5 separate regions of the Homo sapiens genome follow, and regions 2, 3, 4 and 5 are each linked to region 1. Evidence: promoter capture Hi-C in human tissues and cell types (Jung and others, 2019). All regions are on one chromosome and are shown on one strand. Each heading gives the region's core, a stretch centred on a gene start or on the middle of the fragment in contact. The rest is flanking DNA. Distances are from core to core; before and after follow the strand shown. Region 1 holds the start of NAT10 (N-acetyltransferase 10). Region 2 overlaps CD59 (CD59 molecule (CD59 blood group)). Region 3 overlaps CD59 (CD59 molecule (CD59 blood group)). Region 4 has its middle 31 kb from the start of CAT. Region 5 has its middle 27 kb from the start of ABTB2.

Region 1 (6,137 bases), core at 1,946-4,445:
CCAGCTCTTTCTTATAACACCACAGCACTGAAGGCCGAGCCTTCACAGTTGCTTTGGATAACATGTGATGAAGTATTACCACCTGCCAAACAAAAAAGTCACAGAATTTCAGGCACAAAAGAGACTTTAGAGACCGCCAGGCTTAAGACCTCATTTGACGGATGTGGAAACTAAACTGAGGGCCAGGGAAGGGAAGTGCCCAAGGTTCTAAGGCGAGCAATGACCAGGTTTGGACTAGAAGCCAGGTCACATACAGTTCACTTTGTGGTCAACCCACCACCCCAGGCTTCAAAAGGTATTAGCTTGTCTGCGAATCAATCTAAATACAGAGAATTCACCACTTCCAGGAAATAAAGAAAGGTTCCCACTAGGCATCTTACCAGCCAAAGAGATCTTAATGCCATTATGTCCTGAAACAGCAGAGTGCTTAAACATGCTGATTCTTTGGACAAGATAAAAAGTAATTCAGGAAGCATTTACCAGGCCATACCTGATCTTTTCCTCGATCCCCAACTACAACAAAGAGAGATCTTTGCCGCTCAGCTACTCCATTCTCAATGAGAATCCGGATTCGGTTATCCACCTTTTTCCGATGCATGGTGAAAAATTATTACTAAAAGAGAAAGAAATACAACTGGCCATGCGCACTAGATTGTCTAAGGAACATTAGCTGGCTGCCTTTTGTGGGGCCTGGGACTGTGCTAGGCATATCTATAAGTATTGTCTTACTTAACCCTCTACGAGCTCCACAGGAAGACATCAGCCTCTAGTTTTAAACTCAGGAAACCTTAGGCTTGGGAGGTGAGAAAACCTTCCCTCAGCCTGGAAAGCCTGTAATTCACCTCTATTAAATATTTTTTAAAAGCCAGAAACTTGTATATTCAAAAAAGTAGAAGAATGACTAAAATACATAAGGAGATATCCAAATATCCAAAGCATTGTTTGTTTTTGAGACGGAGTCTCACTCTGTCGCCAGGCTGGAGTGCAATGGCATGATCTCGGCTCACTGCAACCTCTGCTTCCTGGGTTCAAGCAATCCTCCTGCCTCAACCTCCCAGGTAGCTGGGACTACAGGCGCATATGTTGGCCAGGATGGTCTCGATCTCTTGACCTCGCAATCTGCCCACCTCAGCCTCCCAAAGGGCTGGGATTACAGGTGTGAGCCACCATGCTGGGCCAAGCATTTTTAACAACTAAGGATATGGATATAGATGCTTATGACAAGATCATGACAGAATAAAGTATGATAACATTTCTTATGCATACACATAACAGAGGGAAAAATAAAAAAGACTGGAAGGAAATACCAAAGTATAAAGTAGCTACTTCTGGATGGTGGGACTTTTATTTTGTTCTTTTGTTTTTGTGGAATCTTAAAAAATTCACGTGTTACTAATAAAGTCAGGGAAATCAATAACCATCAATGAATAATTCCATGATGTAATGTGTCCAACTGTTTCCTCATTTTAGGGAAAACGATATTGAAGCCTTTGTACAGACAGACCTCAAAAGTTCTCGCCGGGAGTGGTGGTTCATGCCTGTAAGCCCAGCACTTTGGGAGGCCGAGGCGGGTGGATCACCTGAGGTCAGGAATTCAAGAGTATGGCGAAACCCCGTCTCTACTAAAAATACAAAACTTAGCCGGGAGTGGTAGTGGAGCTGCAGGAGAGGCTGAGGCAAGAGAATCACTTGAATCCGGTAGGCGGAAGTTGCAGTGAGCCGAGATGGTGTGCCATTGCACTCCAGCCTAGGCGACAGAGTGAGACTCCGTCTCAAAAAAAAAAAAAAAAAAGTTCTGTGATTACCTACAGTAAAATACTGCATCATCCCAATAAATACATCAAAAAAACCATCAGAAATATCACTGTAAAAGTAACATGCTACTTAGATGTAAAAGTGACATGCTACTTAGAAACTCTGGTACCTACTGCATTATAAACATAAAGCTCATTTACTGAAACTTACCATACCTTAACTGTCCCTTCTAACCTTCCAATCCAAACAGATTTTAGCATATGTCTTACTATAAAACACTAAGTCACTGTCAAGGACCCCAATTTATACGTAAAGGAGAAAGTATAAAGAATTCAAATATCCCGAGGCAGAAAAACGACAGACAGAATTCACACTCAAGTCTTCCTGACTCCAAAGCCTGAGCTCTTCCCAGTTCGCCAATCTTCCCAACTTGTAAACCTTGTGTTGCCGGCCACATAAAGATCCCGCAAAAATCAATCAACAACTAATTAATGGGGGCTGCCTTTTGCTCTAGCTACTGTGGGAGCCCCAGAAGTAGTACCACAAGGCCCTTGACTTCAAGCTTGCATTCTTCTTGAAGAAGGTATTTAAGAGAATGAGATGAGGAACAAGAACACAGGTAAAATTAGATGTAAAAAAAAAAAAAATAGCTATACTGAGGGACCGGTCAGATGAAGGAAGGGCTGAGATTACTATGGGCTGAAGCTGTCATGGAAGGCCTGGATGGGGAAGGCCTTGAAGGAGATGATTATTTTTCGCTCACTCATTCGTCTATCTACACATAACATCTATGTGGCAGGCACCATTTTAGGTGCACTGGCAAACAAAACCAAGTCCTGAATGTGACTGCTGAATAAAGAGTATAAAGGAATGTGCACAGTGAAGGATTTAAGAACGTGGAAGGATCTGGAATCAGATTACCCTAAGTATAATGCCCAGACCTGCAGCCAGGCACTGCGGGCAAGCTCCACGGAAAACAACTGTTGTCACCCACCCATTCACCCCGACTCCCCAGTTACAGGCACTACTTAGAGGTGGTTATCGAGCCACGCAAATCCCCGAGGACGCTCGAGAAGCACGCGCCGAGAGCGGCTGCGTATTGGAGAGGTGATTCTGTTATCTTGGAGCGCCCCAAAAGAGGGGTGGAGGACAAACGGCGTAGGCCAGGTATCCGTCCGGATGCAGAGCCTTCATCCTGAGGCCGGTCCCCTCTCGACCCAGGAAGAACACAGACACCGATCTTGGCATCCATACCCGGCCCTCCCGCGTTGGGTACCTGCGCCCCGAGCCCGGGGGATCCCAGCCAGTGGAGAAGGGGAAGCACGTGGGAGCACGGAACAACTCCGAAAGAGAAGGCACAGCTGACTGCCCCTAGCGTATGCCTGGTGTCCGGGTCACGTAGTAAGCCTGGCTCCGCGGCACGCGTCCCTCTCAGGAACTGGTAGACAGCACGTGCGCAAGCGCATTAAAGTCGCAGAGATGGCGAGCGAGAAGGGACCTTCCTCAAGGCTGTCGCTGAGTAATGACGTAAGCCACCAGAAGCGGAGCTGAGGCCTAGATGTCCACTGCGGTTGCGCATTTTAGTCCCACTGCTCGCGGTAGCTGGGTGTTGGCTGCGGTTTGCCTCTTCACTCTTCATATCCCAGCTAAAGTACCTCGGCTAAGAAGGGCAAAATAGATGTCCGCACCCCAGGGCCTGCCCACGTAGGTCCAGGGTTTTCAGCGTCAGCCTGGTTACGCGAAACGCGACGGATCCAACGATTTGTGTTCAATTTAACCGATCCCCGTTAAGTTGAGGAAACTCGGCCAACAGACCTATTTTATTGGTTTCGCTTGGCCCTCCACCCCCACAGTACTGATCTTACAGATGGGAATCCTGTAATCTACCCATGACTGCGGCCGCTGTACTTTGCAGGCTCCCATTAGGCCTGTATATGGTCGTCAAATGAAATTACTCCCCCTGGGCTTCCAGTGAACTCCAAGAACATGACTACAGGGACAACCTATACATAGTGTTGCATTCTTGACTTTGGGGCAGATCGCTGAACTTCAAAAAACATTATCAACTGCTTGATGTTTCCTCCTGGATACCGCAAATGTCTGAATCCAAACCCCTTCCCCAGATACACTTTTAATGTCATCAGCAGCACTACCCATTTAATCCAACATCCATCATGAAATTTTTTAGTTCATTCAGCAAAATGTGAATATGCCCACGCACTATTCTGCTCACAAGGGATAGTGTCCAAAATGTTCCTGCCCCTCGTGGTTAATTCTAGGTTAAGTTTTAAATGCTATTAAGCAGAAGTATCCAGTGAGTAAAGTGACTAAGGATACTATTTTAGAAACGAACACTGAAGGCCTCTGACGGGGTGACACTGGATGGAACAAGGACCTGAAATTTAGAAAGAATGAGCCCTGAGAATATGAGTGAAAAACTTCCCCGTGCCAAAGATGTACATACAAAAGCTCCAAGATGGGGGAGTCCTGGCAAAGCAGTCAGTGTGGCCAAAGCAGTGGGCAAGTGAAGGACCAGATTTAGAATTTAATTCTAGTCATGATGAGAAACCACTGGAGTTTGTGGGGGACAGGGAAATGAGAAAATCTGCTTTGCCCTCTTAAAAGGCTTCCTGTTATGCAAAAACTAAATCACAGGAAGGCAAAAGTAGAAAAAGGAGAACAATTATAAGCTATTGTAGTCACCTGTGCTAGGATGGTAGTTGTGGTAGTAGTTAGAAGTATAAGATAACTCTGGATATTCAAGTTAGAACCACGTGGACTCACTTAAGGATTAGATGCAGGTTATAAAAGTACATTGAAGATGGCACCCAAAACATTTGCTCTGAGCAACTGGATGAATGAACAACTGGTGTTGGGTAATCAAGGAGTTGACTTGGAATATTGAGAAATTCATATCAAGATGTTGAATATGAGTTTTGAGAGGTTTGGGGCCTAGAAATATTCAGGACTAAAATGCTGATCATATTCAAAATCATGGGATTGGATCAGATCACCCAGGGAAGAACACAGCTAGAGATGAAGTCTGACATCCAAGACCTGGAGAAATCAGCAAAGGATACTGAGTAGTGACCAGTGAGATAGGGAATCCATAGAATCCATTCACTACCACCACCCCATCCGCACCTTAAGTTGGAATCCATTTCTCACATGGGCCACTCCAACAAGCCTCCTTACCATCTCTTGGTCCATATATGTTGTTCATTGCATTGAATGTTCTTTAAATGGTAACTTTATTAAGTGAGCCACCAACCCCACCCCAAACAATACAGCCTTTTTTTTTTTTTTTTTTTTTTTTTTTTTTTTTTTTTTTTTGTGAGACGAAGTCTCGCTCTGTCGCCCAGGCTGGAATGCAGTGGCGCGATCTCTGCTCACTGCAACCTTCACTTCCCGGGTTCAAGCGATTCTTCTGCCTCAGCCTCTCAAATAGCTGAGACTACAGGCGCATGCCACAACGCCTGGCTACTTTTTTATTTTTAATAGAGACGGGATTTCACCATATTGGCCAGGCTGGTCTCAAACTCCTGACCTCGTGATCCACCCGCCTCGGCCTCCCAAAGTGCTGGGATTACAGGCACAAGCCACCACACCCGGCCCAACACACAGCTTTAAAACCTTCAATAGTTTGCAACTGTTCTTAAGAGACAAAACATGGGATGCAACTATTATGCCGTCCATAGTAGCCTTTACCTGTTTCTCTAACCTGTAACTCTGCTAGTCCTTTCTCTTTCCACTTGATCCTGATAACTTTCTCAGTCACTGGTGATCAGATGTTTAGGTATGTTCTTCTCTCCCTTTCTTTGACTAGTCTGCTACTCCTCATCCTTCAAATCTAGCTCAATTACCCCTTTCAGTTAAGTCTCCCCTGATCATTTTAACTAGGGTATACACTCAGTCATGGCTTTAATATCTGCCATCAACCACATTGCTCCATCATGGCATCTGCTACACTTTGGTGTCATCAGTCTTTGATTAGACAGTTCAATGAAAGCAGAAACCACAGTAATTTTTGTCACCACTAAATGCCTAGTGCTTGGCATGATGCTGGGCAAAGGATACCCTAATTTGCTGAATAAAGCCTTAGTTTAGTTGCTTAATACAGTGTGTCTCCCTATTAAACACAGTACTTAAAATTGGTATTTCCAAATAAGCATTAATACACAAATGCCTTTGCTAGATGATCAGGAACAAACTGCTGATCTTCCACTGCCTCTACTCAAAACAGCCGTACTGCTTATGTAACTGGATTAAGCTTCAGAACAGCTTGTTAAAAGTAGGATATTAGTAGCAGAAGCTGAGAAGTGTATTAGATGAGGCTATCAGATTGCTTTTATAAACCTTTTCCTCTCTTCACACCAGTAGCA
Region 2 (6,137 bases), core at 3,239-5,738, 400 kb after region 1:
CCCAAAGGCAATACTGTAATGTAAAGACATTTATAGTACTAGGCAAACAGCACCCCAGGTACTCCAGGCCCTCCTGGCTGGAGAGGGCTGTGGCAATAGAAAATTAGTGCCAACTGCAGTGAGTCAGCCTAGGTTAAATAGAGAGTGTAAGAGTGCTGGACAGGAACCTCCACCCTCATGTCACATTTCTTCAATGTGACCCTTCTGGCCCCTCTCCTCCTGACAGCGGAACAATGACTGCCCCGATAGGTGAGGCTGGAGGAAGAATCAGTCCTGTCCTTGGCAAGCTCTTCACTATGACAGTAAAGGCTCTCTGCCTGCTGCCAAGGCCTGTGACTTTCTAACCTGGCCTCACGCTGGGTAAGCTTAAGGTAGAGGTGCAGGATTAGCAAGCCCACCTGGCTACCAGGCCGACAGCTACATCCTCCAACTGACCCTGATCAACGAAGAGGGATTCATGTGTCTGTCTCAGTTGGTTCCAAATGAAACCAGGGAGCAGGGGAGTTAGGAATCGAACACCAGTCATGCCTACTGGCTCTCTGCTCGAGAGCCAATACCCTGTGCCCTCCACTCATCTGGATTTACAGGAACTGTCATAGTGTTCAGTATTGGGTGGTGATAAGCCCATTGGATTGTCCCCTTGGGGGGATGAGCTAGGGGTGCAAGGAACACCTGATGAGTAGATAAGTGGAGCTCATGGTATTTCCTGAAAGATGCTAATCTATTTGCCAAACTTGGTCTTGAATGTACTGGGGGCTTCAAGGTATGGGTATATTTTTCTTGTGTCCTTGCAGTTAGCCCCCATGTCTTATGTGTGTCCTGAAAAAATAAGAGCCTGCCCAAGACTTTGGGCCTCTTGACAGAATTAACCACTTTTATACATCTGAGTTCTCTTGGTAAGTTCTTTAGCAGTGTTCAAAGTCTACTAGCTCGCATTAGTTTCTGTTGCTGCCAACAGATCTGAACTAATGCTAACAGATCCCCCTGAGGGATTCTTGATGGGCTGAGCAGCTGGCTGGAGCTAGTACTGACTGACATTCATTGTGATGAGGGCAGCTTTCTGGTACAGGATTCTAAGCTCTATGTTTTATATACATTTTCATCTGTACTTGCACCTCACTTTACACAAGAGGAAACTATGCAAAGTTAGCTGGATCGCTCAAGGTCACTTAGGTAAGTTGGCAAGTCCATGCTTCCCACTCAGCTCCTCAGGTCAGCAAGTCTACTTCTCTGCCTATTTTGTATACTCTCTTTAATATGTGCCTAGCTTTGGAAAGTCTAGAATGGGTCCCTGGTGCCTTTTTACTTTGAAGAAATCAGTTTCTGCCTCTTTTTGGAAAAGAAAACAAAGTGCAATTGTTTTTTACTGGAAAGTTACCCAATAGCATGAGGTGAACAGGACGTAGTTAGGCCTTCCTGTAAACAGAAAATCATATCAAAACACTATCTTCCCATCTGTTTCTCAATGCCTGCTACTTCTTGTAGATATTTCATTTCAGGAGAGCAGCAGTTAAACCCGTGGATTTTGTAGTTAGGAACCTGGGTTCAAACCCTCTTCCACTAATTGGCTATGTCTCTGGACAAGTTTTTTTTTTTTTTTTTTTTTAAACCCTTTCTGAACTTTCACTTTCTATGTCTACCTCAAAGAATTGTTGTGAGGCTTGAGATAATGCATTTGTAAAGGGTCTGCCAGATAGGAAGATGCTAGTTATGGATTTACAAGGTTGTTAAGGCTGTAAGAGTCTAAAACCTACAGTGAATCACAATGCATTTACCCCCACTGACTTGGACATAAGTGAAAACTAGCCAGAAGTCTCTTTTTCAAATTACTTACAGGTTATTCAATATAAAATTTTTGTAATGGATAATCTTATTTATCTAAACTAAAGCTTCCTGTTTATACACACTCCTGTTATTCTGGGATAAGATAAATGACCACAGTACCTTAATTTCTAGGTGGGTGCCTGTGATGGTTCATTGTAGGTAAGGACATTTTCTCTTTTTCAGCAGCTGTGTAGGTCCAGAGCCTCTGGGAGAGGAGGGGGGTAGCATGCACCCAGCAGGGGACTGAACTGGGAAACTCAAGGTTCTTTTTACTGTGGGGTAGTGAGCTGCCTTTCTGTGATCGGTTTCCCTAGGGATGTTGCTGTTCCCCTCCTTGCTATTCGCAGCTACATACAACGTGGCCAACCCCAGTAGGCTGATCCTATATATGATCAGTGCTGGTGCTGACTCTCAATAGCCCCACCCAAGCTGGCTATAGGTTTACAGATACATTAATTAGGCAACCTAAAATATTGATGCTGGTGTTGGTGTGACATAATGCTATGGCCAGAACTGAAACTTAGAGTTATAATTCATGTATTAGGGTTCTCCAGAGGGACAGAATTAGTAGGATATATGTATATATGAAAGGGAGGTTATTAGGGAGAACTGGCTCCCACAGTTAGAAGGCGAAGTCGCACAATAGGCCGTCTGCAAGCTGGGTTAGAGAGAAGCCAGTAGTGGCTCAGCCTGAGTTCAAAAACCTCAAAACTGGGGAAGCTGACAGTGCAGCCAGCCTTCAGTCTGTGGCCAAAGGCCCAAGAGCCCCTGGCAACCAACCCACTGGTGCAAGTCCTAGATTCCAAAGGCTGAAGAACCTGGAGTCTGATGTCCAAGAGCAGGAAGAGTGGAAGAAAGCCAGAAGACTCAGCAAACAAGGTAGACAGTGTCTACCACCATAGTGGCCATACCAAAGAGGCTACCGATTCCTTCCTGCTACCTGGATCCCTGAAGTTGCCCTGGTCTCTGCACCTTCTAAACCTAGTTCTTAAGAGCTTTCCATTACATGAGCTGTCTCAAAGCCCTCCAATAAATTCTCAGTGTAAGCTTCTGTTGCTTGTGGACAGAAAATTCTGACAGACCTACCCTATAAGTGTTACTGTCAGGATAACATGAGAACGCACAACAGTAAGTGGTCACTAAGTGTTAGCTACGGTTATTTTGCCCAAGGTAGCATGGCTAGTTGATGCCGGTTGATGGGGCTTAAACCCAGCTCCCTCATCTTCCAGGCCTCTGTACTCCCTATTCCACTAAACTACCTCTCAGGTTTATTTTTTTAAATTCTTACTCTGCAAGTACATAGGACCACATTTACCTGGGAAAACAAGAATAAAGGCTGCTCTGCATTTTTTAGAAACTTTTTTGAAAGGGAGATGGGAATGCCTGCACCCCCAAGTCCAGACCAACACAATGGTTAATTGAGATGAATAATAAAGGAAAGACTGTTCTGGGCTTCCCAGAATAGCTTGGTCCTTAAATTGTGGCACAAACAACCTCCTGTCAGAGCCAGCCTCCTGCCAGGAAGAGGGGTAGGAGACTAGAGGCCGTGTGTGCAGCCTTGCCCTGAAGGCTAGGGTGACAATTTGGAGGCTGTCCAAACACCCTGGCCTCTAGAGCTGGCCTGTCTATTTGAAATGCCGGCTCTGATGCTAATCGGCGACCCTCAGGCAAGTTACTTAACCTTACATGCCTCAGTTTTCTCATCTGGAAAATGAGAACCCTAGGTTTAGGGTTGTTAGAAAAGTTAAATGAGTTAAGACAAGTGCCTGGGACACAGTAGCCTCTTGTGTGTGTTTATCATTATGTCCTCAGCAGGTCGTAGAAGCAGCTTCTCAGGTGTGAGGCTGGCGCGATTATCTGGAGTGGGTTGGGTTTTCTAGGATGGACCCCCTGCTGCATTTTCCTCATTCATCCACCAGGGCTTAATGGGGAATCAAGGAATCCATGTGTAACTGTATAATAACTGTAGCCACACTCCAATGACCACCTACTAGTTGTCCCTGGCACTGCTTATACATATGTCCATCAAATCAATCCTATGAAGTAGATACTGTCTTCATTTTATAGATCAGAGACAATTGGGGTTCAGAGAGCTGATGTGATTTTCCCAGGGTCACAGAGAGTCCCAGATTCAGGCACAACTCTTGTATTCCAAGACACAACCACTACATGTCCAAAGGCTGCCCAGAGCCACCGGGCACGGCAAATTGTGACATATCCCTAAAGAGGCTGAGCACCTGGTCAGGATCTGATGGCTGACAGTGTGTCCAGATGCAGAGCTGGAGTGGGGGAGGGGAAGGGGGGCTCCTTGGGACAGAGAAGGCTTTCTGTGCTTTCTCTGAAGGGAGCAGTCTGAGGACCAAGGGAACCCGGCAAACAGCACCTCAGGTACTCCAGGCCCTCCTGGCTGGAGAGGGCTGTGGCAATGGAAAATTAGTGCCAACTGCAATGAGTCAGCCTCGGTTAAATAGAGAGTGAAGAATGCTGGACAGGAACCTCCACCCTCATGTCACATTTCTTCAGTGTGACCCTTCTGGCCCCTCTCCTCCTGACAGCGGAACAATGACTGCCCCGATAGGTGAGGCTGGAGGAAGAATCAGTCCTGTCCTTGGCAAGCTCTTCACTATGACAGTAAAGGCTCTCTGCCTGCTGCCAAGGCCTGTGACTTTCTAACCTGGCCTCACGCTGGGTAAGCTTAAGGTAGAGGTGCAGGATTAGCAAGCCCACCTGGCTACCAGGCCGACAGCTACATCTTTCAACTGACCCTGATCAACGAAGAGGGACTTGTGTCTCTCAGTTGGTTCCAAATGAAACCAGGGAGCAGGGGCGTTAGGAAGCTCCAACAGGATGGTACTTAATGGGGCATTTGAGTGGAGAGGTAGGTGACATAGTGCTTTGGAGCCCAGGGAGGGAAAGGTTCTGCTGAAGTTGAATTCAAGACTGTTCTTTCATCACAAACTTGAGTTTCCTGGACATTTGTTTGCAGAAACAACCGTAGGGTTTTGCCTTAACCTCGTGGGTTTATTATTACCTCATAGGGACTTTGCCTCCTGACAGCAGTTTATGGGTGTTCATTGTGGCACTTGAGTTTTCTTGCATACTTGTTAGAGAAACCAAGTTTGTCATCAACTTCTTATTTAACCCCCTGGCTATAACTTCATGGATTATGTTATAATTAAGCCATCCAGAGTAAAATCTGTTTAGATTATCTTGGAGTAAGGGGGAAAAAATCTGTAATTTTTTCTCCTCAACTAGATATATACATAAAAAATGATTGTATTGCTTCATTTAAAAAATATAACGCAAAATCTCTTTTCCTTCTAAGGGCCTTTAATATGTAATAACAAGAGCTAATGTTGAACACAAGCCATTGCCAGGTACTTAAACTGTCTCACTTAGTCTTGCCAACCTAAGCAAGTAGATGCCATTACTATTCCCATTATATTGATGAAAAAATGAGGTTGAGAAAGGTTCAGCCGCACAGCCAAATACATAGTGGATCCAGGGTTTGGTCCCAAGTCTTGAGTCCAAAACCCTGGTTCTTACCATTACTGTGGTTCTGTAGGGGTGAAAAAATTTTTCTTCTAATCTCTTAGGTTCAGAGCCTGGGGCCTGAGAATTAAACTGACAAAGACAGATTAACAGAAGACAAAGTTTATTACGCAGGTACATGGGGTTCTTACAGAAACAAAGTGAAAACCCAAAGAAGTGGCTTGAGAGCTTATATACAATTTTAACAATGGGCGATTGTAGAAAAGTGATAAGACAAAGGAAAAGAGGTTTGAGCTTCTTGGGCAGTAAATTATGGGAAGTTAAATATGTGGGGGAAACTAATGGAAGATAAGGGTATTTTTTATTTTATTTTATTTTATTTATTTTGAGACAGGGTCCTGCCTTGTCACCCAGGCTGGAGTGCAGTGCTATGATTGTGGCTCACTGCAGCCTCAACCTCAGCCTCCTTGGTTCAAGAAATCCTCCCACTTCAGCTCCTGAGTGGCTCCAGGCAAATGCCACCACACCTGGTTAATTTTTTAAATTATTTTATAGAGACAGAATCTCGCTATGTTGCCCCTGGCTGTTCTCAAACTCTTGGCCTCAAGAGATCCCACCTCAGACTCCCAGAGTGCTGGGATTACAGGCTGGGTGCTGAGCTATCGCACATGGCCTGTATTAGCCATAGACTGAGGGGAAATACATTTTCTTGAGAGCCTCAGCCTAGTGATCACTTGTATGAATAAACAATGATGGGTGGCTGCCAAAGTCAGAGAGCAAATACTGCGTGTGACAACTAAGTGTGGGAAGCTCAGTGTGGG
Region 3 (6,137 bases), core at 864-3,363, 390 kb after region 1:
CTTGTTTTACAAGCAACAAGATTGAGGCCTCCCCAAAATTAATAACTTGTCAAATAACACACAGAAGTGGTACACGGGAATGTGAACACACAGTCTGGCAACAGAGTCCCTGCTCTTCCCTCCTGCTCCAGGCCATCTGTCACTGGGCCACCCCCTCTCCTCAGCCACCCCTCCCCTGGTTGCTGGAGGAAATTGTGTGCTTCTGAGTCAACTTCTATAACAGTGGAAACACACATGCTTCATTGTAAAGATCAAGTGTGGTTGTCTGCCTGTGTCATGTTGGTATAATATCTTGGCCACTGCTGGTTTTTTGTTTTTTATAAATATGGTTGGTGGGGGGAGCAGAAAAGAAAGTGGCAATACAGTGAGCAATTTAAAAAAAGATTTCCACACCACTGTAGCATGTCTTAGAATATTAACAGCAACCATATATTCACTGTTTATTGTTTACTGGGGACTGTGCCAGAGCCTGTCTCATTTAAATCCGTCCAGCCATTCCGGGAGGTCGGTACTGTTACCTCCCATATTACAGCTGAGGAAATGAAGGCAAAGTAGTAACTTGGCGCCAGGACACACTTTAATATGTTCTCCCTTTCTGAGCAGAAAGAGAAGTCATGGCACCCCTTCTTCCCCACCTTCCGTGATTCTAGCCAGGGTGCACTGTAATGTGGTTCACCTGTGTTAAAACACTATATTTTTTCTATAATTATTTTTTATTTATTCATTTTTCTTGGTTCCTTCTTTTTTTCTGTCTCTGCTGCTTAAGTTGGAATATTTTCTAGAATTTTAATAGCCCAGTGACATCCTACTTCCAGCAGTCTGCATTTGTTTATGGAGCAAGCTTGGGACCATCAGCTTCTCTGTGACAAGTCTTGGGGTGCACTTCAGCCCTTTCTCAGAGAATTGAGATGTGAAGCTCACATGCCCACAGATGAGAGGCCTTCTTTGCTGCTGCCCAAAAGGGTCTCAGGACCCTGCAGGGGAACTTTCCTCTGAGCTCTGCCTCTTATGGCCCAGGGGAAACCTCGTCTACCCTGGCTTAGTGGCTAAAATATCAAACCATTGTCCACTGACCTATTGCTTGTTTTTTTTTGTTTGTTTTTTTCAGGGGGATGGAGTCTCACTCTGTCGCCCAGGCTGGAGCGCAGTGGCGCGATCTCGGCTCACTGCAACCTCCGTGTCCCAGGTTCCAGCGATTCTCCTGCCTCAGTCTTCTGAGTAGCTGGGATTACAGGAGCATGCCACTATGCCTGGCTAATTTTTGTATTTTTTTTTATTTACTTTTTAATTTTTGTATTTTTAGTAGAGGCGGGCTTTCACCATGTTGGCCAGGCTGGTCTGGAATTCCTGACCTCAAATGATCCACCTACCTCAGCCTGCCAAAGTGTTGGGATTACAGGCGTGAGCCATTGCACCTGGCCCTGTTGCTTGTTTTTGACCTCAGTTTCCACCATAATCTAGAGTTTCCTTCTCTTCCCACTCAGGTCAATTAGAAGAACATCATGGTTAACCAAGCTTGGATTTTAGAACTGACAGCCTGAGTTTGAGCTCAGCTCGGTCACTTAGTAGCTGTGTGGCTTTGAACAATTTAGTTAACATCTTAGTCTTAGTTTTCTCTTGCAAGGTGGGGATGAAGATAATTGAGCCTAGTTCTCTTAACAATCCTATGAAGAGCTTAGCACATAGATGCACATATATTTGAACACTGAATGAACATGTTTGCCATGAATATTTTTGCCCACAGACGTTCCAACCATGGGTTTTAGCCTTTCCTTCTAAAGCTTTCTTAAGAGGCCAAATGAGCCCGGGATCTAGCCACCACAAAAATCCATGTCTACAGGTAACCTTTTAAAATGGCCCTCAAACATGGCCAGTCTCAAGAACAACACCCTTCATCTTAGACTCTTTTCATTTCATGCGTGTGAATACATGTCTGGCACAAGGAAGGGACCAAAGAAAAATTGCATCTTTGCGCCTTCTCCTTGTGGCTTCCCTCTCACACGGGCATGACAGCCACAGGCTGACAGTGGGGGAGAACAAACAAAGCCTGGTGGATGGGGCCCTGCCCACAGGCCCCAGGGCTGCCGCCAGCTCTGCTGCTTTGTAGCCAGGTGTCCTTGTGTGAGTCACATCACCTCTCCAGACATCTGTCTTGTCATCTGCAAAAAAGTTGGGGAGGAGGTTGGTTTTTATTTTATTTTATTTTATTTATTTTTTAGACATGGTCTCGCTCTGTCTCCCAGGCTGGAGTGCAGTGGTGCAAGCTTGGCTCACTGCACCCTCCACCTCCCAAGCTCAAATGATTCTCATGCCTTAGCCTCCTGAATAGCTGGGATTACAGGCATGTACCACCATGCCCGGCTAATCTTTGTATATTTTGTAGAGGCGAGGTTTCACCATGTTGGCCAGGGTGGTCTCAAACTCCTGGCTACAAGTGATCCACCCACCTCGGCCTCCCAAAGTGCTGGGATTGTAGGTGTGAGCCGCCACACCTGGCCTAGTTTGTTGTTGTTTTTTAAAACTAATATTTCAAGGCATTAATCTGTAACCTTCACAAGTCAGAGGATCCTCTATTGGGTAGGATTTCACACCTGTGAGGGCAGACATGGCCATTTCAGATGCTCTAGAGAACTGGGTTCCTGTGTGTGCTCAGAAAGTGAGGACCCACCTTGCTTCCACTGGACTTTCCACTGAAAAATCTATTTCCATGGTGATAAACCTAGCCTTCAGCCTTAGAACTAGAAGTCAGCTGTTGGGCTCTAAAACCCACACTTGGTTTAACCATGACATTCTTTTGTGAGATTTTACGTGTTTCATCTTTGAAAATGTCTTTTCACAGAGGTAGGTACTTCCAAATACTGATTACATGGTAGAAGTCATATGGCATGAAGATAGTTTATCTCTGATGATGGAAAAGGGGGTATCCATACAAACCAGGAAGATTTCCTTCCAACTCTTGCTTCCTCAGTCTCTCCCCATCACACGTGTGGACTGTAACTCATCTTTTTGTTGTCACTGTTGTTACAAAAATGGAGAAGGAAAAATAACCCAGCAAAAACTGACAGCTAGCAAGGATGAGTCTTAAGAATTGACTGGGAGCAATAATTGTTTTTCAAACTAGGGAACTGGAGGCAATTTGCTTCTGATGTAAGATGACCCTCACGTTGTGTCTGCTGGTACCCAGCTGTCCTATGCCCATGGGTTTAAAGTGCACAGCTGTTGTCTTGTCTTTGACAGTGTGTACTCCTGGCATTCGGTCAGTCCCTTAGAAGGGGGTAGTTCAGTAATGATACCCTGTCCCAGAGGTTACCAAACTTTTTCTGTACAGGACCAGATAGCAATTTTTTTTTTTTTTTAAACAGAGTTTTGCTCTGTCACCCAAGCTGGAGTGCAGTGGTGCAATTGTGGCTCACTGCAACCTCTGCCTCCTGGGTTCAAGCGATTCTCCTGCCTCAGCCTCCCAAGTAGCTGGGATTATAGGTGTGCACCACCATGCCTGGCTAATTTTTTTATTTTTAGTAGAGATGGGGTTTCGCTATGTTGGCCAGGCTGGTGTCAAACTCCTGACCTCAGGTGATCCACCCTCCTCGGCTTCCCTAAGTGCTGGGATTACAGGCGTGAGCCACTGCGCCTGGCCCAGATAGTAAATATTTTAAGCTTTGCAGACCAAGAGGCAAAATCAAGGGTATTATGAGACTTACCTCAATAATAAGAAACAAAATTTTCACAGATTTTTTTATTGACAAAATTCATAACATAATTATTGAGTCCAGCATAATAATACACATCTACTAATGAGGGGAATAGAATTCTTTTTAGGGGGATAACCATTTGCTTAATTGGGGTTCAAAATTAGTGTTCCCTCGCATCAAATCAATTGCAGATGTTCATCTATTAATACTAATCTGTGATGACATTTTACATATTTCATTTTGAAAATGTATTTTCACGCAGATAGGTATTGCCAGACATTGATCATCAACCCACGAGGATGTGATTTAATTGGGCATATTCATTGCTTGGAAGACACTTATAGAATTCTGTTTGTTTCTCGGTAATTTCTTCTTAACACATCATTACATTGCAGACTAATCTCCTTCCAGTTGCAGGTTAGGAGGAAGCTTCTCAATTGCACAGTTAGATGGATATTCAAATGTGGATATTTCCTTTGTGCTTGCATCAGGGTCCAAAAAATGTTGCTGGAACTGTAGTTTGAATTTGGAAAGATATAACTGCTATACATTTGTGCGGGAGTGGAAGTATACCACAAGTTGCTGACTTTGGGCCCATATTAATGGAGATGGTGGGCTGCCAGGGGACAAGTCAGTGCTGCTTTAAGAGATCCTGACTTTCTTCCTGATTCTAGGTCATAGCCTGCAGTGCTACAACTGTCCTAACCCAACTGCTGACTGCAAAACAGCCGTCAATTGTTCATCTGATTTTGATGCGTGTCTCATTACCAAAGCTGGTAAGAGCCTCCCCTGTCTGTCTCCTAAATGTAATGGGGTAATAAGTGCCTGGGAAAAAAATTGTGCCACTGTAATCCTCATTAGGCTTGCATCAAGTAATAGCTACCATTTATTAGCGTCAGGTGTGTATTGGGCTAAGCACTTTCTTCATACATTTTAAATTTAATGTTTTGCACTTCTAAGGGTGATCTTTTATTTCCATTTGATAAATGTGGAAATGGAGGTTCAGATTAAGCAAGAAATTATGGTTAAGTAACCGACTCAGGAATTGAACATGGAAGTCCATCTGATTCCAAAGCTTGTGCTCTTTTACAGCAGCCCTGTGCTGCCTCCCAGACCTTGGAGAACCTACTGTGTGCCCAGCAGAGGGTTAGGAGCTAGGGATGCAAAGATAAAGAAAGGACACATACAATTAAAATTATGACAAAGGCCTGTTTGGCTGTCCTAAATGTCATTATATATGCCTCTGTCTCATTCCATGGGGTATCTGGTATATTCAGAGTCCTGAGGAGACTCAAGCTGAGCTCAAAGGACACGTAGGAGGTAAGAGGGCTAAGAAGGGAAGGGTGTGCCTGGGAGGGGCAACAGCAGGTGCCAGGGCTCGGTAGCCTCAGAGCAAGGTGCTCATGAATTTGGGGATGGGCAATGCTAACATGCACAAGTCCTGTCCAGTCTGCATTTTCCAAATTTGTTAGACTACAGAATATTCACCTCCATCACCCTGTTAAAATAGAGTTTAGGAAGTGGTAGACAGAGGAAAGAAACCAGCAAAGACATGCCCTCTGTTCTTGCTGGGGTGTGGTTCTGGATAGAATCGATGTGTGCAAATGATGCCAGCGAGGAATGGCAGTTTCAGAATGTTCTTAGTGTCCAAGGTAAAACCCTCAGGCTTAGATTTCTAAGAGATTAATAATAAAAACACTCCACAAGGTTATTTGTACTCTTAGACCTTCTACACCAGCTCCCCCCAGTGTCAACATCAAGAAATGGTGAACATGTCAGGTAAACTCAGAAAAGCCTTGGGACACCCACATGTTCAGAAAAACCTGAGATAAAGATGATTAACTTCCCCAGAAAGGAGAAATCCCTCAATAACTAAAGACAAATTATAGTTACCCTGTCTAAAAAAACAGGGGCATCTGATAATTTTGATATATTTAGCTGGATTTGATAAATTTGATATAGTTTAGCTGGATTGCAGCTAAAACTCCAAACCTTCCATTCAGAGCTCTTGATTCTGTAGGGCACCAGTCCCTCTGCCCCCACTGGAAGACCATATTCATTCACTGTTAATGTAGGAAGCGTAGTAAGGCCCCTAGCGAGAACATGGTCATTATGTACGAGCACAGAAGACTTGGCTCTTTAGCTTGATCAACTGTGTCTCTTGGACTCCTCACTACTAAGTATAATTAAACTAAGTATAGTTTCCAAATGAGACGATAAGGGCAATTACTATGTGTTGAATGAATATTACAGCAGCAATTAGAGCTCTGACTTCTGTCCTGCCACCAGCTAGCTCTCTCCACCTCTGTTTTTCATTTATGAAATGTATGTGTTGGACAGCAGAGGTAGGGAGGAGAGGAAAGGAGGTCAAAGCCAAGATCTTTTTCCAGCTCTTAAATCCCAAAATTTCTTATAAATGGTTAATGTAAACAAAAATGAGACACA
Region 4 (6,137 bases), core at 2,049-4,548, 300 kb before region 1:
TTTAATTTAATAAAGTAAATTAAAATTTTCACTTCCAGGCCAGGCGCGGTTGCTCACGTCTGTAATCCCAGTACTTTGGGAGGCCAAGGCGGGTGGATCACTTGAGGTCAGGAGTTTGAGAGCAGCATGGCCAACAGGATGAAACCCCATCTCTACTAAAAGTACAAAAATTAACCAGGCATGGTGGGGTATGCCTGTAATCCCAGCTACTCAGGAGGCTGAGGCAGGAGAATCACTTGAACCTGGAGGCAGAGCTTGCAGTGGGCCAAGATTGTGCCACTGCACTCCAGCCTGGGCCACAGAGGGAGACTCCATCTCAAAAAAAAAAAAAAAATCTTTTCCAAAAACAGATATTAGTAGCATTTTTAAAGTGACATTTCACTATCTAAAGAACTAAAACCATTAGTCTCGCCAAGCGTCCCATTATATCCATCTTTTCAGCATCTGGAGCATTGACATGCATGTCTATAGTGGAAACCTCGTCCTTTTGTCACATATACAGAGGACACCTGATTCACTGATTAGTGTTATGTGACAGGGTGACAACAAATGTAAATAGACTAAACCATCACATTTTCCTTCCCAAGTCCATTTTATCTTTTAAGGTTTGACCCAGTGTTTTTGTTGTTGTTGTTGTTTGTTTTTTTGTTTTTAATATACTATGACTAGCTTTTCAGCAGAAGAAATTTTGAATCTATCTCCCAAAATTATTTGATTCTTGTAGGCAACTAGTTCTGCTCTGCCCCTTGAGTATCAGCTATTGTAGATGGCGCAGGACTGTCACAAAATTTGCGGCTCAGGTTGTTCTCATGTTATCAAATGGTCCTTGACACTGTCAAGTTGGGTGGGTGTTGTGCCATTGCTTTTCCCCCATCTGAGGGTAGTGCCATTTATAAAAATACTCTGAAATCTCTAATCCCCGCAATGACCACTCCTAACTGCTGCCTCCTTGAGCTCAACAGAGATTTGTGCTCCAACAACTTCTCTTACTAGCACCATAGCATGGATCTTTCTTCCTTCCACTCTGTGAACCTCAATAGTATGGCACCGCCTTTATCCCTCAAATGTATTTTTGTTTGTTTGTTTGTTTGTTTGTTTGTTTTGGAGATAGAGTCTTACTCTGTCACCCATGCTGGAGTGCAGTGGCACAATCACAGTTCACTGGGAGGATCACTTGACCTCCCAGGCTCAAGTGATTCTCCCACCTCAGCTTCCCCAGCACATGTCACAACACCCAGCTAATTTTTGTATATTTTGTAAAGACACTACAGTTTAGCCACGTTGCCTAGCTGGTCTCAAACTCCTGGCCTCAAAAGATTCTCCCACCTTGACCTTCCAAAGTGTTGGGATTACAGGCATGAGCCACCATGCCCAGCCTCAAATTATTTTCATCTTCTCCTTAATTATTTCCATCCATGTTGTGGGGCCAGGGATTGCCTAACTCCAGACAGGCTGTCACTCTTTTCTCCTTTGACTTCTTAGGTAACATCACTTTTTATGCTTGAGGCTGGCTTTGAAATGTTAATATCTTGTTAAGACTCCAGTCACATTTGAATGAAAAGGGAATTTTATGGGTAGATCTGGAAATCTATTGCTTATATCATCATTTTCATGAGAATGAATATTTCAAGTTTAAATATAAGTGGAAGGAGCTAGCTAGGGCTACCAGACATTTTTGCCAAGTCAGCAGACCTGTTAGAGAACCCTAAAGAAGAAACAGAAAGTAAGAAAGAAACAAACAGAGCCCACAGAGAACATTCAGGGAACATTCAGGGATCCAATAATGGACGATGTTTCTCCAGTGGCTCTTATGTAAACCCCTATCTCCTGCATACACTGCTGCACCTCTCCTTAGGTTAAAGCCCCTTCTTTCTCCCAGCCTCTGTTGCTCCCTGCCAGGACCTTTGATCCTTTCCAGCTTCCACTGTGAGTTGGATCAATTACAGTGTGTCTCCAGGTCATCGCTTAGCTTACTTCACTTGACAACTGGACATTTTCTGCTTGCTCCTCCAGATTTAATCTCCATCCTCCTCCATTCTAATCTGTACTCTGTGAGTCTTTTTTTTTAATTGACACAAATAATTGTATATATTTATTGGGTAAAAGATGATGTGTTTTGAAATACGTGGACATTGTGGGATGGCTAAATCGACTAATTAACCTGTGTGTGGCCTCACATACTTATCATTTTTTTGTTGTGAGAACATTTAAAATCTACTCTTTTAGCAATACTCAAGAATACATTAACTATAGTCTCCATATCGTACAATAGATTTATTGAACTTTTCTTCCTGATGAACTGAAATTTTGTGTCCTTTGACCAATATCTCCCCAGCACTCTTCACCTGCAGCCCCTAGCAATCACCATTCTACTTTCTGCTTCTATGAGTTCAACATTTTTAGATTCTACATATAAGTGAGAATCTGTGCCTGGCTTATTTCACTTAACATAATGTCCTCCAGGTTCATCCATGCTGTCACAGATAACATGTGACACTTTGTAAGTTAGTTAATGAGATGTCAGTATGGTCCATCTAAATATTAATGGAAGGCAAGTGCTCCCCTACTGTTGAACTTCACTTCTGAAGGCAGGTATCAGAAAAATAAAGGAGGAAAAAACTACAATGTATCTAACTATGACTTATGTTATTGAGAAATTAAAGTGCATATTGAAGCTGTCAATCTCAACATTGCCAACCATCATTCAAACATAGGATGTGTTTATGATGAAGCATCTTAAAGCATCCTGGGAAAATTACAATGATGACTCCCAACTTTCCATTAGCTAGGAATGTAAAGAGTTACAAATATGTGTCCAACCATAAAGATATTTGACATGAATATGTTGAGCTCTAAACAAGAAAAGTAATTTTGGACAAAACAATATCATTAAATGCTGAGAGAAGTTCTTCTATTTTAATAACTGAATTTAGGAAAAACAAGTCCCTCTGCTATTTGCTGGCTGGATTGGGCTAAGGGCGGACCTGGTTTTTGTAACTCTCCCCACCCTTCTTGGGATGTGTCCAGCCCAGTGGGCAGCCTTGTTCTGGAATATCCAGTTAAGCTGGATTGCTGTGGGGGGTGGAGTTACAGTTGCACTTTTTCAACCTAAGAACAGGATGCACCAACACAATCCCTGATTTTCCTTAATTTTTCCAGGGCCTTGATCTTCTTTTGGGATCCACAGAAAACTACCACTGGCACATGGGGGAGTTGATGGTGATAAATTCCAAGGGTAACTGGGAAGAAAAACAACCAAGATCCACTGGAGAAGTCAGTTATTGTTAGGTCAGGCAACATCAACACAATAGACATCTGTTCCATTGAGAAAAAAGAACTCTGTTGAACTGATGAAGCTGTCAGCATAAGTCATGCTCTTTGGGCATGTCATAAAACGACCTGACCTTCAGAGAGGAGGCTGGGGTATCAGAATCCTCATTCCTACCATCAGTGGAATCTGTCATGGTAGAATTTCTTTCCCTGTGTGGTTCCCCCAAATGTACACTGATTATTAACTTTTAAATTCATAGCTTAGGAACTATAGGAGGATCTAGCTCTGCACTGAAAATAATGAAATTCTGCTGGCTAGCCAACCCTCAGTTGTTCCAGATTCAACAGGTTTCTATTGGGTATCTATGCATGCAAATACCAGAGGTTCAACAGTTAACAAGACAGTCATGATCCCTGTGCTATGGATCTTAAGATCTAGTTGTCCTCCTGTTAGCAATATCACCGTATCAAGAATCAATCAACTGTTCCCAATTGACTGAGCTGGAATGAACTGCCCAATCCCCTCCATTTATCAATTTAAAAATAACTCTGAATAGGTTATATCTGTGTATATAGGGTTCAAAACTAATTAAAAGAGAGGACTAGAACCCAGGTCTACTGACTCCCAGACCTTCCCTGTTTGTTGATACTCTGCCCTCCTTTCTACCTACTCCCAAAAAAAGCTTAATTTCCCATGTAGAGTCCTTACACTGGTAAATGTCTGCTGACACATGCAGGAGTCAATGATTATTGACTCTGGCAAAAGCAATACGTTGTCTAGTATATTTACCAACTACTAGAACACAGTGGTGACATAAATTTGTTTTTCATGAAACTTTCTCTATTTCTGAAAGCAAAGTCCACTAGAAAGCCGAACTCGTGGAAAGTATTTCACATAAAATTGTATTTGATGGACATACTTAAAGGGCAAATATTAAATTATGGCTTTAATCTCTATTCTTTTATATATGTCAAGAAAGCCTCATCAAATCTTACCTTTCATATGCATGAAATATTCCTTTAAAGTTGGCTTATCAGATTACTAAAAGAACTTCTGTACCAAAGATTTTTTTAAAATGTGCTAGGCTAAGACAACATTGTGAGATATATTTAGGAGTAGGAAAAAAGGCTGAATTTCCCTTTTTTTTTTTCCTTCTTCTCCTTTCAGGGATCCAGTGAACTCAATGTCCTTTAGTAAATGTACCAGGTAGAGCAGTTGAATTCATGAGAAAATCATCAAGTAGTCAATATTCTGGTTGTCTCAAAAGGATTTCTTTTTAAAAAAAGAAGACCCAAGGAAAACACTATCAATAGAAAGCATTGAATGCTCATAAGGAATTTAGGCAATACCAGGAAAGTGTGTTTGGGGTGAGGGGAAGGGTGAAGAGGGAGAAGTGGAGAAATGGGAGGGTAGAGGGAGAGAGAAGTGGAGAGATGGGAGGGGTGGAGAGAGAGAGAAGTGTGGAGATGGGATGGTGGAGGGAGAGAGAAGTGGAGAGATGGGAGGGTGGAGAGAGAGAGAAGTGGAGAGATGGGAGGGTGGAGGGGGAGAGATGGAAGATTGGAGGGAAAGAGAAGTGGAGAGATGGAAGGGTGGAGGGGGAGAGATGGAAGGTTGGAGGGAAACAGAAGTGGAGAGATGGAAGGGGTGGAGAGAGAAGTGTGGAGATGGGAGGGTGGAAGGAGAGAGAAGTAAGGAGATAGGGTGGAGAGAGAGAGAAGTGGAGAGATGAAAGGGTGGAGGGAAACAGGGGTGGAGGGAGACAGAAGTGGAGAGATGGAAGGGGTGGAGAGAGAGAGAAGTGTGGAGATGGGAGGGTGGAGGGAGAGAGAAGTGGAGAGATGGGAGGGGTCGAGGGAGAGAGAAGTAAGGAGATGAAACGGTGGAGGGAGAGAGAAGTGGAGAGATGGGGGGTTGGAGGGAGAGAGAAGGAGATGGGGGTGGAGGAAAAGAGAAGTGGGGAAATAGGAAGGTAGAGGGAGAGAGAAGTGAGGAGATGGGAGAGAAGGGAAAAGGAAGTTACTTTCACTTTTTCTCTCAATCCAGTGGGGAAGATGTTGATATCAGTCCTATGTCATGGATGAGGAAATTGAAGTTCACATTTGTCGCTTGCTGAAGGTCACGTGACCAGAAATGCAAAGCCCGATCTGACTCATATTCTCCTAATTATAAATGTTACGTGCTTTCTATTACTCAGGCATTGCTACTCTTTCGGTTGTGCCAGGAATGGCATAACCAATATTGTGTTTGATTCTCACAGCAACCCCAGAAAATGAATGTTACTCTAAATCTCAAAATTAAGAAACTGCCTCAAAGAGGTTAGGTCATTTTGCATAGGGCCCCACAGTAAAAACAGCATTTAGCAAATAAGTGGGGGCAAAGCTCTGCCCTTTTTGTTACTTCAGTGTTTCCAAAACACACTCTGGGGATTTGAGGTGAAGAAATGCCACAATATCCTAATCCCTTTGAACAAGGTGATCTTTACATAAAGTTTGATGTGAAGTGTCCTGAAAACAACTGGAACAACCCAGACAAACGTTCTCAACTAGAAGATCCGCTGCCATCTAGATCAGAAGTTTCAAACACAATTGGAGAAAAAGTGGCGGTAGAGCTTCAGGAATGTGATAACACTTGAGGCTGAGGAGGTGGTCAGAGGCATGAAGCCTAAATCATAGCTCTGATGAAGAAAACAGCAGCCCTCATGTTCCTGGAGGTGTGTGCCTGCCCATCCGCAAACACTGCAAATGAATTGCACAGGAGGACTTTCCTTCCACACTTGCCTGATTTGTTCTCAGCGATCCCACTGGAGTGTCCCATCAATCCAGATGAACTGATGGACATCCATTGGTCTCTGCGTAACTTTTAA
Region 5 (6,137 bases), core at 1,197-3,696, 280 kb before region 1:
AGATTACACTGATCACAACATTTACTAAACATTGTTGGTTATATTGAAGGCTGTAGATGGTGCAGTAAAGCAAAGAAAGAAAGAGAGAAAAAAAACAATTTGAAAAGAAGTAACCAAACATCATTTTTAGATTGTATAATTATGCACACAGGAAATCCAAAAGAATCTACTGATACATAATTGGAGTAATAAGAAAGTTTAGCATGGTTGCTGGATACAAAGACAATATACAAAAATCAACAGCATTTCTATACTAAAAATAAACAATTAGAAAATTAAATTTTTAAAGTGATAGTATAAACAATAGAATCAGTAATGGTAAGTACATAGAAATAAATCATTTTTAGAAGGTTCAAGCCTCTTCAGGGGTCTTGTGCCTTTAAAAAAAAAATTTGGCCAGGTGCGGTGGCTCACGCCTGTAATCCCAGAACTTTGGGAGGCTGAGGCAGGCAGATTGCCTGAGCTCAGGAGTTTGAGACCAGCCTGGGCAACACAGTGAAACCCTGTCTCTCCTAAAATACAAAAAATTAGCCAGGGAAAAAATTAGCCAGGCGTGGTGGCGGGCACCTGTAGTCCTAGCTACTTGGGAGGCTGAGGCAGGAGAATTGCTTGAACCTAGGAGGCAAAGGTTGCAGTGAGCTGAGATTGTGCCACTGCACTCCAGCCTGGGTGACAGAGTGAGACTCCATTTCCAAAAAAAAAAAAATTTTTAATTTTAATAAAATTTAATTATAAATTAGGTTTTTAAAAAATTATTATGAAATGTAATTATAAATTTTATAACTATGTTGAAGTATATTAAAGGACACATGATTAAATGGAAATTCATACCATATTCATTGACTGAAAGATTCAACAGGGTTTGGGATTTTGTTTTGTTTTAAAACTTGACAAGCTGGTTTTAAAACATATATGATAATGTAAAGGGCCAAAAGTATCCAAGACAATCTTGAATAAGTAGAAAAATGTCAGAGGATTTGCTCTAAGAGATATCAAGATATATAGATATCAAAGCTACAGTAGTTAAAACAATGTAGAATTGATACAGTGATAGACAAACCAAGAGCTAACATAAAAGAGAAACTAAAAAGAGACTCACACTTATGTGGACCTTGATTTAGACAGAGTGGCAATACAGTGTATGAGGAAAATGACAAGTATTTTTAATACTAATGCTGAGACACTCAATTATATATGTAAGAAGAAATAAAATTGGACTTGAAAAGATGCTGACCTCATTGGTAAGAAGGAAAATGCAATTTAAAAATCACAGTGAGACACCGCTACACACTCATCAGAATGGTTAAAATGTAAACCATCTGATGTTTATTGCGGCACTATTCACAATAGCAAAGACTTGGAACCAACCCAAATGTCCATCAGTGATAGACTGGATTTAAAAAATGTGGCACATACACACCATAGAATACTATGTAGCCATAAAAAAGGATGAGTTCATGTCCTTTGTAGGGACATGGATGAAGCTGGAAACCATTAGTCTGAGCAAACTATCACAAGGACAGAAAATCAAACACCGCATGTTCTCACTCATAGGTGGGAATTGAACAATGAGAACACTTGGACACACGTTCCCCACAGGGTGGGGAACATCACACACTGGCGCCTGTCGTGGGGTGGGGGGAGGGGGGAGGGATAGCATTAGGAGATATACCTAATGTAAATGGTGAGTTAGTGGGTGCAGCACACCAACATGGCACATGTATACATATGTAACAAACCTGCACGTTGTGCATATGTACCCTAGAACTTAAAGCACAATAAAAAAAAACGGTAAAAATAAATTTGGATATTAAATTTAAAAAAAATGTAAACCATCTGAAATACCAAGTGTTGGTGAGGGTGTAAAACAATGGGTATCCTCGGCCAGGCACGGTGGCTCACGCCTGTAATCCCAGTACTTTGGGAGGCCGAGGCGGGCAGATTACGAGGTCAGGAGATCGAGACCATCGTGGCTAACACGGTGAAACCCCGTCTCTACTAAAAATACAAAAATTAGCCGGGCGTGGTGGTGGGCGCCTGTAGTCCCAGCTACTCAGGAGGCTGAAGCAGGAGAATGGCATGATGGCATGAACCAGGGAGGCGGAGCTTGCAGTGAGCCTAGATCACACCACTGCACTCCAGCCTGGGCGACAGAGCGAGACTCCGTCTCCAAAAAAAAAAAAAATGGGTATCCTCATGTACTGTTGATAGGAGTGTAAATGGGTTCAAACACTTTGGAAAAAGATGGCATTATTTTTTAATGGGGAAGCAATGCATATCCTGTGACCTAGCAATTTAATTTCACTCCAGATACATAACATATAGGAATGTAGGTATGTCTGTGTATACAAGAATATACATAGAGACATGTACATGGTTTGTAATAACTGAAAACTGGAAATAATCCAAACATCCAGCAACAGGAGAATGCAACTTTTGTGTGATATTTTCATGCAATGGAATGCTATATAGCAATGCAAATAAACAACAGCTACATACCACATGAGTGGATGTTAAAAACAGTCAAGAAACAAGACAACAAAAACACTGCAAAATTACATACTAAAATTGAAAATGGGCAAACTTAAAATGCATTGTTTAGGATGCTTACAAAGGTGGAAAAATTATAAAGAAAAGCAAGGATGTGATTACTATAAATGTAAGAGAGAAAAAAAAGTGATGCAGACAGGAAGAAGTAGCAGGATGGAGAAATCACATAAAAAGTCATACAAAGGGAGGTCTGGGGACTGTCAATTTCCATTGGTGCTATTCAGCAGGACTTCCTGTAATGAAGAAACTGCTCTAGATCTGAGATGTCCAACACTACAGCTTCTTGTCATATGTGGCTACTGAGAACTGGAAATGTGGCTAGTGTGACTGAGGAGATAAATTTTAATATTATTTCGGCCAGGCGTGGTGGCTCAGGCCTGTAATCCCAGCACTTTGGGAGGCTGAGGTGGGTGGATCACCTGAGGTCAGGAGTTCAAGATCAGCCTGGCCAACATGGTGAAACCCCATCTCTACTAAAAATACAAAAATTAGCTGGGCATGGTGGCAGGCACCTGTAATCCCAGCTACTTGGGAGGCTGAGGCAGGAGAATCGCTTGAACCCAGGAGGCAGAGGCTGCAGTAAGCTGAGATCGTACCATTGCACTCCAGCCTGGGCGACAGAGCAAGACTCCGTCTCAAGAAAAAAAAATTAATATTATTTCATTTTAGTTATTTAAAATTTAAATATAAATAGCCCAATGGCTGCTGTTTTGGACAATGCAGCATCTAGTTTGTATCGATCAAGTTTCCAAAGGGAAACAGAGGGCTCACTCAAAATAGAGTAGTGGTCTTTAAAAGGTTTCAGAGAAGAAAAAAGAAACAAAAGAAAAATAGAGTCATTTAAGGAGGATTCATTTATGAGACAGCTAATCACAAAGGTACAGGTATAGGGGAGACACAAGAGATGGTTTTGCAACCTAAGGCTAATGGTAGCCAACCATTAATGTGACCATCCCTAGACCTGAAGGGACAAGGAAAAGATGTGATTCCTAGAAGGAGAGAAAATTAAGTAGATTCTGCCATGTTAAGAGGAGCAGTGACCTTTAGTGGAGAAACCCAGTCAGCCAGAGGTAATATCACATTAGGAGCCAAGGGAATATAAGCCTTAACACCACTCTCTTTTCCTCCCTACAATCTCCTGCTGTGTCTCCCCATCAGCCAGGCCCAAGAGGAAGTCAGAGGGGAAAATTGCTCACAGATCCACACAGGTCAGTCTCCCAGATCAATGTCAGATGGTGGCTAGATCTAGGGGACAAATAAAAGATGCCCAGCACATGGATCTTGACTGAGATGCTTGCTGCGTTATTATTACACTATACATTTTTTACTGTAAGAGATTATAGTATAAAAAAGAAAAGGGAGAAGAGAAGGTAGAAAGGAAAGAAGGAAAAGGAAGGAGAGAAGGGAAGGAAGGAAGCAAGCAAGGAGGGAGGAAGAAGGGAGGGAAGGAAGGAACTAAAAGAGGAAAAATTAAAAAGAAAGTGAATAGAAAGGAAAGAAAATAAACCCGACCAACTAGCTCCTGCATTATGTACTAGTAAGAATCTGATGGATTTATCAACTGAAAAATAGTAACCAAAAGTCTGAATAAATGGTTGTCATCAAATGTTTTTGTCAAGTCAGTAAAATAATACAGCAATTTTTTTTTTTTTTTAGACGGAGTCTCGCTCTTTCACCCAGGCCGGACTGCGGTGGCGCTATCTCGGCTCACTGCAACCTCTGCCTCCTGGGTTCACGCCATTCTCCTGCCTCAGCCTCCCGAGTAGCTGGGACTACAGGCGCCCGCCACCACGCCCGGCTAATTTTTTGTATTTTTAGTAGAAACAGGGTTTCACCATGTTAACCAGGATGGTCTCGATCTCCTGACCTCGTGATCCACCGCCTCGGCCTCCCAAAGTGTTGGGATTACAGGCGTGAGCCACCGCACCCAGACTAATATAGCATTTTTAATGCTATATATTGCATTTCTTAACCTATGATGAATCTTAGACAATGGTCTCCATTTTTTAGTCTTATTGTCTTTCTTTTTAAAGTCACCAGAAATTAAGTAAAGGACGTATAACATGCTCAGAAATGCTATGAACAGGTACCCACAATTGGGTGGGTCTTTGATTTTGTTTGCCTTCCTGTAGTGTTGGAACCGTACTTCAATGTTCTGGGTAAAACTAGAGCCAGGAAAATGAACTATGCGCACATAGTTCATTTTGAAATGCAAAATGCAAAATGAAAATGTGCACATCAATTAGGAATGCTTTGGCTGAAAGTGAAAGACAATCTGGCTAACTGTGGTTTAACACATAGGGATTATTTTTCTACCTATTAAAAAAGTGATATAGGCAACTGCTGGCGTTGATTCAGTGACCCCATAATTTCAGGTCCAGCATCTCTGCAGTTCTTCTGTTCTCTTCCTCCCAATCACAAATGACCAAGACATCACCAAGTATAAAGATTAAGGCACCAGAGGCAGGTAGGAGGAGGCATTGCAAGGTACAAGTGTCAACATTTTGCTTTTATCAGAAAAGCAAAAGCTTTCTCCACAAACCACCAACAGACCACTGCCCACATCTCATGGTCTAGAACTGTGCCACCCCTAGCTGCAAGGAGGCTGGGAAAGTGAATATTTAGTTTTCTCAGCCTTTATAGGGAAGTTGGCAAGAGATAAGAAAACTGGAAACAGCTATTAGTGAAGCCAGCTAAGCTTTAATGCCTAAAATATTCTCCCTGCAACGTCCAAAATATCTACCATGAAAATGAATTCTTTGGCATTAAAAATAACTTTTAGAAGGCATCTATTTACATATACATGTTTCCTGGAAGGATGATGTAGCAACACACTGGTGCCCATTATCATTTTAGCATTAATTTATTTCTGAAGATTTGCTAGTATTTGCCTAGTACAAAGCCAAGTGTTAAGAGAATAAGATAACTAGGCTTCAACATAGTAAAAATATGCCAGGAAAATTCCAGACACCATCAGTGAACCTTATTAGTTTCAATAAGCAGGTGAAGGCATTACATTTAGCAAGTAGGCAGGGCAGGAAACACTAAAATACATTTCACCCACTGCATTATGTCTAGGATCAGCCTCAAAGCCAGCTCCTGAAGGGCATAGCAGATTGCATCTAATATGTGCCATCAAAACTGGCCCACTACTCCTTTTCAGCCTATCCGGAATCAAGCAGGCATGAAAAATGGACATCATGGAGATGTGATGACAGAAGGCACATACCTAGATTTCTTTCCTCATAGTACAGTGGTTGTTAAGAGCACAGAGTCTAGAACTAGCTAGATTCTTGGGCTCCAAATCCTGGCTCTACTAGCTCTATGACCTTATCAAGTTACTGACCATCACTGTGCTTTGGTTGCCTCATCAGTGGAAAAGATCATAGGGTTGTGATGAGAAAAACAAGTTAATAAATGTAAATAAATATGCATGGTGCATAGTAGGTACTATATAAGAGCTGGCTGCAAAAAATAAGGCCTTTCTCCTGTGATCCCATTAGTATTATGCTTTCATATTTATATGTTTTTGGTAAAGTCTTCCTTTTCTTCTTTTTCTTATATAAGAACAACATAGTTTCACTACA

What was found. Contacts are between HindIII fragments. The study calls those that stand out against the background at their distance.
Region 2: a contact is called between a fragment that was not itself captured here and the fragment with the promoter of NAT10 in region 1, in 1 of the 25 tissues and cell types used here (aorta).
Region 3: a fragment that was not itself captured here is called in contact with the fragment with the promoter of NAT10 in region 1 in 1 of the 25 tissues and cell types used here (hippocampus).
Region 4: a fragment that was not itself captured here is called in contact with the fragment with the promoter of NAT10 in region 1 in 1 of the 25 tissues and cell types used here (neural progenitor cells).
Region 5: a contact is called between a fragment that was not itself captured here and the fragment with the promoter of NAT10 in region 1, in 1 of the 25 tissues and cell types used here (liver).

What each region holds. Positions count from the first base shown.
Region 1 is chr11:34,102,687-34,108,823 of GRCh38, reverse strand. It overlaps NAT10 (N-acetyltransferase 10), which reads right to left and starts at 3,195. Exons shown (of 29, transcript NM_024662.3): 1 at 3,032-3,195; 2 at 491-613; 3 at 1-82. The coding sequence starts at 598. RefSeq lists an enhancer at 2,983-3,442. The HindIII fragment of the contact is 6,988 bases long and covers 271-6,137 here.
Region 2 is chr11:33,702,021-33,708,157 of GRCh38, reverse strand. It overlaps CD59 (CD59 molecule (CD59 blood group)), which reads left to right. Exons shown (of 4, transcript NM_000611.6): 4 at 1-5,148. It also overlaps a transcript of C11orf91 not described here. Among named protein-coding and RNA genes, the nearest start is that of C11orf91, 4.3 kb to the right of the region's middle. The HindIII fragment of the contact is 4,215 bases long and covers 2,381-6,137 here.
Region 3 is chr11:33,715,701-33,721,837 of GRCh38, reverse strand. It overlaps CD59 (CD59 molecule (CD59 blood group)), which reads left to right. Exons shown (of 4, transcript NM_000611.6): 3 at 4,367-4,468. Among named protein-coding and RNA genes, the nearest start is that of CD59, 18 kb to the left of the region's middle. The HindIII fragment of the contact is 4,662 bases long and covers 1-4,444 here.
Region 4 is chr11:34,404,518-34,410,654 of GRCh38, reverse strand. No RefSeq gene overlaps it. Among named protein-coding and RNA genes, the nearest start is that of CAT, 31 kb to the left of the region's middle. The HindIII fragment of the contact is 7,882 bases long and covers 1-6,137 here.
Region 5 is chr11:34,381,705-34,387,841 of GRCh38, reverse strand. No RefSeq gene overlaps it. Among named protein-coding and RNA genes, the nearest start is that of ABTB2, 27 kb to the right of the region's middle. The HindIII fragment of the contact is 5,435 bases long and covers 1-5,163 here.